Regions from separate parts of the Homo sapiens genome. Here all the other regions are linked to region 1. The links are contacts of gene promoters, found by promoter capture Hi-C in human tissues and cell types (Jung and others, 2019). All regions are on one chromosome and are shown on one strand. Each heading gives the region's core, a stretch centred on a gene start or on the middle of the fragment in contact. The rest is flanking DNA. Distances are from core to core; before and after follow the strand shown.

Region 1 (3,827 bases), core at 980-3,479:
AAATGGAAAGTTGGGATCGAACAAAAGCTATTATAAATTACCAACGGTGTCAACCTGCATGGCCATTTTTGCTTTTAACAGTAAGTTATAAAATTTAGTACAGTCTAAAACTTTTGCCCTTTTTAAACAAGACCACAGAGATGGTTCGCCAGTACTTATTCTAATTTTTTCCTTTTGTACAATTTTTAAACAATTAAAATGTCCAAATTTGAATAATTTTCTTCTTTTCACGTTTGCAACTGTCCTAAATTTCAGCTGCAGAATCAAAATTCAGCAAGAAGCCTCTCCTTGAAAAATATTGGCAAATTCTCAGCTTATAAACAATGGACATTTTGATTGCCATGTTTATCTCGATAAATACTGTACAAAAGTTGCTTGCAAATATTAAAACATTTTTTTCGTCGCTTGGAGACTAGCTCTAAATATTATTGGTAAAGACTTTTGCAAACTTCCTGCAAAGCTCCTACCGTACCACTAGAACTTTTAAAAAGTTTTTCGTAGCTTTCTTTCCTCCAGATCTATACAAGGTCCATTCCCCCGCCCTCCCCACCCTCCCCAGGTTTTCTCTGTACAAAAATAGTCCCCCAAAAAGAAGTCCAGGATCTCTCTCATAAAAGTTTTCTTGTCGGCATCGCGGTTTTTGCGTGAGTGTGGATGGGATTGGTGTTCTCTTTTGCAGCTGTCATTTGCTGTGGGTGATGGGATTTTTTTTTTTCCTTTTTCTTTTTGAGCGTACCGGGTTTTCTCCATGCTGTTTCTTACTCTCCTCTTTTGCACCCCTCCCATTTCCCTCGTTTTTCTTTGAAAATTTCTCCCCCCTCCAGTTCGCTGTCCGGCCCTCACATGTGTGAGAGGGGCAGTGTGCCGTTAATGGCCGTGCCGGGCACCGGGCCGCTCTGGTAGTGCTGGGACATGTGAAGTCTGCTGGGGGCGGCGGGTTCCGGCACCTCGGCGCCGGGGAGATACATGCTGATCATGTCCCGGAGGTCCCCGGCCTGGCAGGGCGCCCTGGAGTGGGAGGAAGAGGTAACCACAGGGGGGCTGGAGCTGGCCTCGGACTTGACCACCGAACCCATGGAGCCAAGAGCCATGCCAGGGGTGCCCTGCTGCGAGTAGGACATGCTGTAGGTGGGCGAGCCGTTCATGTAGGTCTGCGAGCTGGTCATGGAGTTGTACTGCAGGGCGCTCACGTCGTAGCGGTGCATGGGCTGCATCTGCGCTGCGCCGTGCGCATTGAGGCCCGGGTGCTGCGGGTAGCCCAGCTGGTCCTGCATCATGCTGTAGCTGCCGTTGCTCCAGCCGTTCATGTGCGCGTAACTGTCCATGCGCTGGTTCACGCCCGCGCCCAGGCCGGCGCCCACCCCGACCCCGCTCGCCATGCTATTGCCGCCGGGGGCCAGCAGCCCGCCGGGCAGCGTGTACTTATCCTTCTTCATGAGCGTCTTGGTTTTCCGCCGGGGCCGGTATTTATAATCCGGGTGCTCCTTCATGTGCAGCGCTCGCAGCCGCTTAGCCTCGTCGATGAACGGCCGCTTCTCCGTCTCCGACAAAAGTTTCCACTCGGCGCCCAGGCGCTTGCTGATCTCCGAGTTGTGCATCTTGGGGTTCTCCTGGGCCATCTTGCGCCGCTGCCCGCGGGACCACACCATGAAGGCATTCATGGGCCGCTTGACGCGGTCCGGGCTGTTTTTCTGGTTGCCGCCGGCCGCCGCCGCGGTGGAGTTGCCGCCGCCGCCCCCCGAAGTTTGCTGCGGGCCCGGCGGCTTCAGCTCCGTCTCCATCATGTTGTACATGCGGGCGCTGTGCGCGGGCCCGGCCCGCCGGCGGCCGCCGACCCTCGGCCCGGCCGGGACTTTGGGGGGCCCGCGGGCGGGGGGAGAGGAGGAGGGGAGGCGGGCGGGGGTGTCGGGAGCGCAGGGCTCCGCGAGGAAAATCAGGCGAAGAATAATTTGGGGGAAAAAAAGAGAGAGGCAAACTGGAATCAGGATCAAAAAAAGCGCTTCCCTCCTCCTCTGGCCGATCCTGCCGCCGCCGATGATTGTTATTATTATTTTTTGGAAAGGCTTAAGCCTGGGGCTCAAACTTCTCTCCCTTTCTTTCTCTCTCCTCTTCTTTCTCTCAGTCCTAGTCTTAAAGAGGCAGCAAACTACTTTCCCCCTTTTGCAAACACTCTCTTCTCTGCCTTGACAACTCCTGATACTTTTTTGAACAAGTTAATAGACAACCATCCATGTGACGGGGGCTGTCAGGGAATAAATGGGTTTCTAGCGACCAATCAGCGCGCGGCGGCTCCTCCACTCGAGCCCAGCCTCGCTGCCGGGTTTTGCATGAAAGGGGGCGGGGCCTCCCGCGCCGCCGGCCGCGCGGGGGAGGCCGGGGGAGGAGGGGGCAGGCGAGGAGGGGGAGGAGGCTCCCAGAGCCAGCCTGCCAGCCACTGAGAAACCTTTGTATCCCCTCTCGCAGCAACAGGTCACACCACACGCCTTTTCGAAGGAAGTGGGTAAACAGCACTAAGACTACGTGGGTTTTTTTTTCTTTAAACTTAATATTGATTTACTTTTTGGTGCAGGGTACTTAAATGAGGATGGGACGCGGGAAGCAGCTAAGGTGCGGGGGTGGGGCAGGGCACAGTGGGTGGCTCAGGGCGGCTGTCCAACTCGTATTTCTGGAAACAGCCAGTGCAGGAGTTGGTGTGTCATTGTTCTCCCGCTCATCCACAGCACTCCCCCCCAACTCCAGCCCCTCTGGTGCCGCTCCCGTACTGCGCTCTTCCGCTCTCCTCTCTTACCTTACAGGTGCCAACACTCTCTCACGCCCTTCTCACAGTCCCGACTAGAAGTTAGGAGACCCAAACCTCTGTCCTCAAAACCTTCCTTGCTTCCACGTAACTTGCTCTGTTCTTAAAAATAAATCCTGCTCGGACCATAAGGCAGACTCTAGAGCTGAGAACCAGCAGGCCTTGGTAAGCTGCCATCTCCCTGTCCAACTCAGCTCTTTGGCCCAGGAAACTGCAGCTCTTCCTCTTAGCCCCAGCCACATCTCCCACTAGACTGTCTTCATTCAACCGTAGCAAAGGGGATGCTTCTACTGTCTGCCCCCACTCCCCATTCCCATCCCATGCCTCCCCGTAAGAAGGGTTTCGGTCGTGCGGCTTTCAAATGGGGGCTGGGGAAAGACACAGACGGAAGGGCGCTCAAAAGTGCAGGCGATGGGGGAGGGTGATTTCAACTTCCTGGCATCCCACGGCACTGTATGGAGGTGGCTTTTGGGCCGCAGTCACAAACTCCCTCCCACGCAGAGTTCCCAGGACTCCAGCAGAACCAGCCCTGGCATTTTCCCCGTAGATTTCCATTGTGGTGGCCGCAAAGCCCAGGCCGCGCAAGGCTGGGGCTGCGCCGCAAAGGGGCTCAAGGCCTGGGAGGCGGGGTCGATGCTCTCCAGGCACAGGTGCAGGCAGCGCACACTGGGAGAAGGCGGCCGGGACTGGGGAAGGGGGAGCCCAGCAAGGCCCGGGTTAGAGGAGGATGAGATGGGGGCGGGGGTAGGGGCTCAGGAATCTTGCCCGCCCAGGACCCAAGAGGGTAATTTTAGCCGCTCTCCCATTGTCCCGACGTAAAGATTTCAATAGGTAGGCGCTCAATGCGGAGGGCAATGGCAGCACGTCCGTTACAAATAGGTAGTTTTGTTTCTCTTGTTGTCGCTACACGGAGTCAAACAAAGCCTCGTCTAAGTTTCCTTCCACTCTCTTGTTGGGATCTTTGTGGCTAAAATGCACTTGACTACAAAGGGTGGGGTGGGGGGGAATAAAGAAAAAAAAACCTGATGCC
Region 2 (3,827 bases), core at 791-3,290, 290 kb after region 1:
TTTAGTGGAATGTACTCAGTAAAAGTAGACCAACAAACAAACCCTCTGATTCAGTCAACTTTGGTTCTAAGGAACACTCACTCTCAAGCCTGAAGATTTGTATTTATTGATCATAAATTAAAAACAGTGCTAATGTGGTTTGTGATATCTTCCTGAGAATTCTAATTACAGGTCAATAGGCCCATTAGAAACCATCAGGAGTGTTGAGACCATCCTGGCTAACATGGTGAAACCCTGTCTTTACTCAAAATACAAAAAATTAGTTGGGTGAGGTGGCGGGCACCTGTAGTCCCAGCTACTCGGGAGGCTGAGGCAGGAGAATGGCGTGAACCTGGGAGGTGGAGCTTGCAGTGAGCCGAGATCGAGCCACTGCACTCCAGCCTGGGTGTCACAGCGAGACTCCGTCTCAAAAAAAAAAAAAAAAAAAAGGAAAAAAAGAAACCATCAGGAGTGAGTAGTGCAGAAAAAGGCACAGAGGGGACCAAGCATTCCATAGGGCCATGCATGGCTGAAGCTTCTATTTCTATGAATATGTTTTGGCTTCCTTAATCCCTCACCACCAATTTCACCATTGTGTCTTCACTTTTATAGCAGATTTACGATGTCATGTAGACTCAGCCTCTTCTCTTCGTAACATCCTGCTCAAACCTCCTGTATCCTAACACCGGAGCTTAAAATGTAGTTCAGCTTTATGATAGGTGGAGTGGCAGGGTCTTGGGTATGTTCAACTTGAGATTGCTGAGGATTGTGCTGTCTAATTTGGGTGGTGCTAGCCATATGGAACTATGGTGAACTTGAAATACGACTAGTGGGACAGAGAAACTGAGTTTATTAATTTAAATTTAAATTTAAGAACTAGATTTAATGTAAAAACTTCTAAATATCTTTGAAATAACTTGGATGTGTGTTCATTTGTTCAACTGTAAATTTTATGTAATCGAAACCAACTCTTCCTAATCAAAACTCAGCTCCCAAATTGAGATGTGCTAAAAGTATAGAATATATGCCATATTTTGAAGCCTTAGTAAGAAAAAAAAAAGTATAATACCTTATTAAATTGTTTATGTTGGGTACATGTTAAAATGTTACTATTCTTGGATATACAGGGTTAAAGAAAGTATATTATCAAAATTAATGGTATCTGTTTCTTTTTACCTTTTTTAATGCCACTACTAAAATATTTTAAGTTACACATGTGGCTCTCACATTTCTTTTGGATTACATTGGCTTAAGGGCCAGGCAGGACCTAAGGTGAACTAGGGGCCTTTAACCCTTCCTGCTTTATCACTTTGGAAAATTAACAAGACTAAAATTATTTACAACTCTACAACATTAGCTAACATTTATTGAATACCTACTAAGTGCCAGACACTGCTCTAAATTCTTTACAGGCAAACAATTTTCATAACAACTCTTTGATGGTATGATTTTTATTCTCATTTTAAAGATGAAGAAATGAGGCATAGAGTTGAAGAAGTTTGTAATTGGTAGAGCCAGGATTTAAACCCAGATATATCTGATTTAGTAGTATTCACAACCAGTGAAACAGAAAAATTATATTTGAAATATGCTACTTAGTACAAGAAACTGGGGTGGTACTTTTGTGAGCTCTACTTAAGGAGTCATTAATGCATTATACAACATTTATGGTCACTGAATGAGTGAGTCTGCTGGTTGATCTACCTAATACCAAAAAATAATGAAGCTTGCTCTTCATATGCACGAATAAATACAGAGCTCTGTTTGTCAGGTATTGTTAAAATCTGACAAACACTAAGTGAACTCATGGAGCTATTTTAAATAATAATCAGGATTATTTGTTTGTTGCAAACACAAAATGCCAAGAAATCCTAACTTCCTTGTGGATGAAGTGAAATTAATTTTCTTTACAATCAACTTGTCCGCAAAATATTTTACACTAACATGCTTTTAGTATCTGTATATTTGAATGTACTTCCTCTCATTCATAAATTCATTCATTCATCTTGAATTATTAACTGAGTGTCAATATGTTGTAAGGACTGGGTAGGAAATTGTCATACGAACAATCTAAGAAGGGAATTTGTGCCTGGAGAAAAAGATAGTGTAAATGGGGATTTATGGTTCTATATACCCAGTCTTCCTGTGAATTATACAAAGTTTTTAACTGTATTGTTACAAATTTTTAAAGGCTGCATTTGTAAAATATGTCGTTTTTATTTTCTTAAAGTTTATGTTTGGATGACATTAATACTCAAAACACACATTCTCAGTATTGGTTGGACATTTTAAAATTGGCATAACAGAGGATTCAACACTCGGTCTCAGCTGTTCTGGAAACAAGGCAGCTGCTGAGTGAAAACGGATGCCAGGAAGAACCATGCTGAGGATAAAGCAAGGACATTGTGGGAAGCACAACTTTATAATAACTTGAGGCATTCCATCTAATGACATTATAATTTAGCTCTCACTTATCAGGTAGTGCACCAGACAGCTCCAACTATCATTTGTCTAGCATCCATTAAGTATTGTCTTCCTTATAATAGTTAGCTTTGTGTGTTGGACAATAATGAGGTGAGGGGAACCATCAAAGGCATATGAGAAATAAACCTTAATGACAACAAACAATTTGTCAGACATTCTTTTCCTCCAGCTTTAACATTTGGGTGCCATATAGTGAATTAAATGATCTAACCCATCTCATTCATCACTTGAACCACAGAACAAATGGTTAAAGTCAAGCTTCTCTGGAAGATTACCTGACAGGTGATATATGAAGCCATCGAGGAATTGTATGATGAAGGGACATTAAAGATGACAACTGATGTGTCAGGCTTCTAGGCCAGTTACTTTCATTTTGTAACAGGAGCACATACATTCCTGGCTAAATGGTGCAGGCTAACTTAACTAAGTTTGACTTGATATAGACTGTGGACTTATATCCACAGTTTTAAGGGACGACAGCACAAATACGTAGAACATAATTACTGATGTCACTTTCTGTAACATTTATTCATTTCATGAATGCTTACTGAGTATTAACTTTAGGTCAGCACTATTCAAGGGGCAAGATTTTTCTTTTGGAGACTGAGAAAGTTAATAGGTCCTGTTCTGGATCACTAAGCAAGGAAGCAGCAGACCAGGGGCTCAGGCAGAGTTCTTCTGACTACAAGTTTGGTAATGAGAATGGCGGAGCATGCTGCTTCTCAGCACCCAGTGATAAGTAGTAACTTCCATAATACTTCCACCACCTCCTCCCACAGTGAAAGCTGCTCCAGCATAGCAAGACCTGGCTGAATTTGTCTACGTAGATAGAGAATTTGACATAAAGTAACCTGAATCTGAGCTGTAAATCTGACGTTTAATTCTCTTTCAAGTTGAAGAAAGAACAGAGAAGGCAGAGTAGATGGGTAAATTGCTTTGGGCATTTTACAAAAGTGAAGATTCCAAGCTTTGATTTTCTAGGTTCAATTCTGCAGATTAAACTAACTTAGTGCTACTATTAGACTCATTGGGTTGCTTGCCTGTCTTCCTTCCTCTTTCCCTTCCTTCCTTCCTTCCTTTCCTTTCCTTCTTTCCTTTCTTCCCTCCCTCCCTTCTTTCCTTTCTCTTTCTTTCTTTCCTTCCTTCCTTCCTTCTCTTTCCTTGGTTTTGAAATGGAATGTCCCTCCATCACCCATGCTGGAGTTCAGTGGTGCCATTTTGGCTCACTGCAACCTCTGCCTCCTGGGTTCAAGTGATTCTCCTGCCTCAGCCTCCTGAGTAGCTTGGATTACAGGTGTGCACTACCACACCCAGCTAACTTCTGTATTTTTAGTAGAGAGAGGGTTTCACCGTGTTGGCCAGGC
Region 3 (3,827 bases), core at 635-3,134, 280 kb before region 1:
AATTTTTAAAACATGTTGATTTGGCAATCATATAGATAGAAGCATGTAGAGTATCCAGAATTCCAGAATTCCATAAATGTTAGCTGTTTTTCTGTTTTTTGTGTTTTTTTTTTTACCATTTATTTCAGGGTCAGGGGTACATGTGCAGGTTTGCTATACAGGTAAACTTGTGACATCGTTGTTTGAGGTACAAATTATTTCAGATTCTTTCTTAATCATATTTTATTTCCATAGTCACAAAAGAACAAAAAAAAATTTTTTTAAATCTTTGGGTTGGTTTTCTTTGGTTTGTGTTTTACATCCACTTAGTTTTATAACTCAGTAGAGCCTGCAAACAGACAACATTCTTTTTCATAAGATGAACTACGTCTGTATTTTCTCTGTACAGAAATAAATGTAATAAGCCAGGTCAGTGGTGATTAATTTCCAGAACAAAGGATTTACCAGGTGGAAAGCCAGAGGGTAGGCAGTATAAGACTTACAGGGACAGAACCCTTTGGAAGGCAGAATTCTATTCAAATTCAATTAAAACTATGCTCTCAATCCAAAGGTAAATGATTCTGCTTAAAGTTTTTTGTGCCTACTATTTCCCTAGGGCAAGAGCCCTGTAAGCAGATACCTTTAATTGTGCCAGCTCCTTTTGTATTTTTCACAATTAGCCTATCTCCAATTATATAAACACATACACGATTACAGTCTTTGGTTATGGAAGGTATTTACAGGAAAATAAAGGTAACTTTAACTTTGAGAGTTGGTTTTAGGACAAACAAGATTAAAGCTTATATGGATATACAAAATAATAGACTAATGCTATTGTCTGCTTCCCTTAAATTATTTTATTAGACGGAACATATTAATTATAATGAAAGCAAACTTGGACTCTGGGTTTCTAAAGAAAATTCCTTTGTAGCATCACAGCAGGATTTCCTACCATTTTTCTCTTTCTGATGAAATTAACTTCCCATAGTTGGTCAGCAGGATAATCTAATTTTAGCCAATCAGCTTGGGAGCTGCTGTTGACCTCACAAAGGGAGAGAAAGGTATCTGCAGTCATAGCAACCACTCGCTCAGCTCCGATCATCTCTCTGGACCCTTCCGCCTAATGACAGACACCCGCTTGCTTCTTAGATGATTAATCTTTTCCCCTGTGAACCTCCTTGAATACATTAGCCAAACAAGTCTGATAAATTTGTTTATCCCAAGACAATCATTAGAAAATTACCTGCAAAACTAATTCTCACTAGAGCAGTTTGTGAATGGAAAGCCATATGGCAGATAAAAACAGAAATATGCAATAAAATCTCTTGCTGTATGTCACAACAGGTTAGGAAACTTTTTTCCACTTTGAACTTTATCATTTTTTGCTAAATCACAAAAGCATATTAGCCTAAAAGCCATTTTCCATGAGCAAAAGAACATTGATTCTAGTCACTAGTCACTCCTCCAATCAACACTACACGCCTACTATGCGCTAGGGGCTGGGGATGCACCCGCGAATATGAGCTATTGCTGGCTTCCACAATCTCACATTCCAGTGGGAGGAGACAGATGTATAAATAGATAATTACAACATACTATAAGGGCAGTAAAAGAGGCAAAACTGTGGGCTCTGAAAGCATTGGAAAGAAGTGGATAACTGTTTTCCAGAATCAACTAAGATTTTACCGTAGCAACATTCAGATTAGGTAAAATAGCAGGACTTTTCCAAGAGATAGAATATTCTTGGCAAAGAAAATAGCATTGGAGAAGCATGGACTTATGGACAATGGTGATAAACTCCTGGGCAGCAAACTGCAGCAGCTGGGTATTGGCTACATCTTTTTTTCCAAGAAGTTGGACTGAAAAATGTGGATTGTAACGGGGTTGAAGTACCCTATAGGATAGCACATGTTAGGGCCTCAAGAAGACTGAAACAACGGGGATGGACAGGAAGGGCCACTTTGGAAGTTCTGATGTTGAATCAAAAGAATAAAATTGTTGGTGTACCCTTAGTGATGCTCCTCACTTATGGAAAGAAAGAGAAGACAATAAGCACGTGTGTGGCCACACTGCTAATATGGGCCATTTCCATACACAGTCACTAGATCCACCACTAAAGGGTCAGTTCATTGAGTGAGAGACAGGGCTGGGTTTCTGTGTTGTTAGGTGCTCCAAAATGAGAGAAGGTATTTAAAGCAGCTGATGAGACAACTGTAACTAGTTGAGTAGGGTTATTAGTGTGGGCAGAACCTTACTGACACTATAGGCTTTTATAAACCAACACTAGACAAACTTCACCAAAATCAGGGCTTGAGAGCCAGGTGTCTGGACCAGTAGCCAAAGCTGTCTGAGTCCAGGTGGTGATGCTACGAGTGGTAGGACAATTGGGCCCATGTCAGTTCTGCAGCCACGCTGTGATTTCACCAAGGCAGGCTTCAGAAACGCTGACTGGAATGAAAGGTGTCATGTAGGTAAGCCTATCATTGATTAGGTTCTCCAAACCAATTCAGGAGCTTTACCAGGACATGTGCTCTAGGTCTAGACTGCCCAAGCTTGAGAATTTCTACATCTGCGGTTCTGTGCGAGTATTCCAGTCCAGGTTTCTAATTTTCTCATGCCTTGCAAGAAGAATGTTGCCCACCATAAATCTGCTCCACAGAAGCCTCAGAAAGGAGCCAATCATTAGACTGAGGAGTCTCTATTTTCTATATTTGCCAAATTTTTAACGGTGAGCATGTATTAGTTTTGTAATGAAAACATGTTTTTAAGAGATAGAAATTTCAACATAAATTACCTCAAAAGCTGTTCTTCTGTAATAGCAAATACACAAGTTGGACACAATTATCAGAAGCACTTACACAATTATCTGCACTAGGCTGGGCATGGTGGCTCACACCTGTAATCCCAGTGCTATGGGAGGCTAACGCAGGGGGATTGCTCGAGCCCAAGAGGTCAAAACCAGTCTGGGCAACAGAGTGAGACCCTGTCTCAACACCCTTCCATGGCCCCTGCCAAGCAACTGCACTATACCAGGTCCTGTGCAAAGCCCTTCACAGACTTGAGTCATGTAATCCTCACAGCAGCCCCTAGAGAGGGACTCCATTTTACCAAAGAAAAAACAGCATTGGAAATGTACAACTGAAAGAAGGAAAGAAAAGAAAAGGAAGGAAAGAAAAAAAAAAAGAAAAAAGTTTTGTCAAGGTTCCAGATAAAGAGAATATTGCCTGGAAATTAGGTTACTACTAAAGGTTATTTTATTTTTAATTTCCATCCAATGACTATATTCTGAGCACCTGTATGTCAGGCTCTGAACTACAAAAAGAAACAGGTGTTCTGGTGGGGAGGCAGGCACATGGACAACTAAATATAAGATAATGTGATACGTTCCTTTAGAGTGGGCTATGCAAAGTGCAGATATTAGCCCATGTGAACCGTGTCTGAGGAAGCAACAGTTCCACTTCACTGTGTGCCAAGCTTCATGCTTGAGACCTGATAAATAGTACTTCATTTATACTGCATGACAACCTCAAGGGGTGCTATTTTTCTCTGACATTTTATAAATGAGGAAAATCAAGCTAAGAGGTTATAGAGCTTATCCAAAGTCATATAACTATTAAACAATAAATCTAGAATTTGAACCCAGATCTATGTAATTCTAAAGTTTGGGTGCTTTTCACTATGTTGTAAAGGTAGAAAAATACACTCGAGTCTGGGCGCGGTGGCTCACGCCTGTAATCCCAGCACTTTGGGAGGCCGAGGTGGGAGGATCAAGAGGTCAGGAGTTCGAGACCAGCCTGACCAACATGGTGAAACCCTGTCTTTACTAAAAATAACCAAAATTAGCTGGG

What was found. The method cuts DNA at HindIII sites, captures the fragments that hold promoters and counts their contacts. A contact is called where the count stands out against the background at its distance.
Region 2: a fragment that was not itself captured here is called in contact with the fragment with the promoter of SOX2 in region 1 in 2 of the 25 tissues and cell types used here (aorta and dorsolateral prefrontal cortex).
Region 3: a fragment that was not itself captured here is called in contact with the fragment with the promoter of SOX2 in region 1 in 3 of the 25 tissues and cell types used here (heart right ventricle, lymphoblastoid cells and spleen).

What each region holds. Positions count from the first base shown.
Region 1 is chr3:181,710,327-181,714,153 of GRCh38, reverse strand. It overlaps SOX2 (SRY-box transcription factor 2), which reads right to left and starts at 2,229. Exons shown (of 1, transcript NM_003106.4): 1 at 1-2,229. The coding sequence starts at 1,793. The coding sequence ends at 840. The region is part of intron 6 of SOX2-OT (SOX2 overlapping transcript); the gene reads right to left. RefSeq lists enhancers at 388-1,239, 1,240-2,093, 2,094-2,946, 2,947-3,800, a silencer at 2,329-2,388 and a promoter at 1,968-3,001. The HindIII fragment of the contact is 19,833 bases long and covers 1-3,827 here.
Region 2 is chr3:181,423,780-181,427,606 of GRCh38, reverse strand. The region is part of intron 3 of SOX2-OT (SOX2 overlapping transcript); the gene reads right to left. All of the region lies in intron 3 of LOC102724604 (a long non-coding RNA gene), which reads left to right. Among named protein-coding and RNA genes, the nearest start is that of SOX2, 290 kb to the left of the region's middle. The HindIII fragment of the contact is 3,615 bases long and covers 233-3,827 here.
Region 3 is chr3:181,985,164-181,988,990 of GRCh38, reverse strand. All of the region lies in intron 5 of LINC01206 (long intergenic non-protein coding RNA 1206), which reads right to left. Among named protein-coding and RNA genes, the nearest start is that of LINC01206, 35 kb to the right of the region's middle. The HindIII fragment of the contact is 4,000 bases long and covers 1-3,827 here.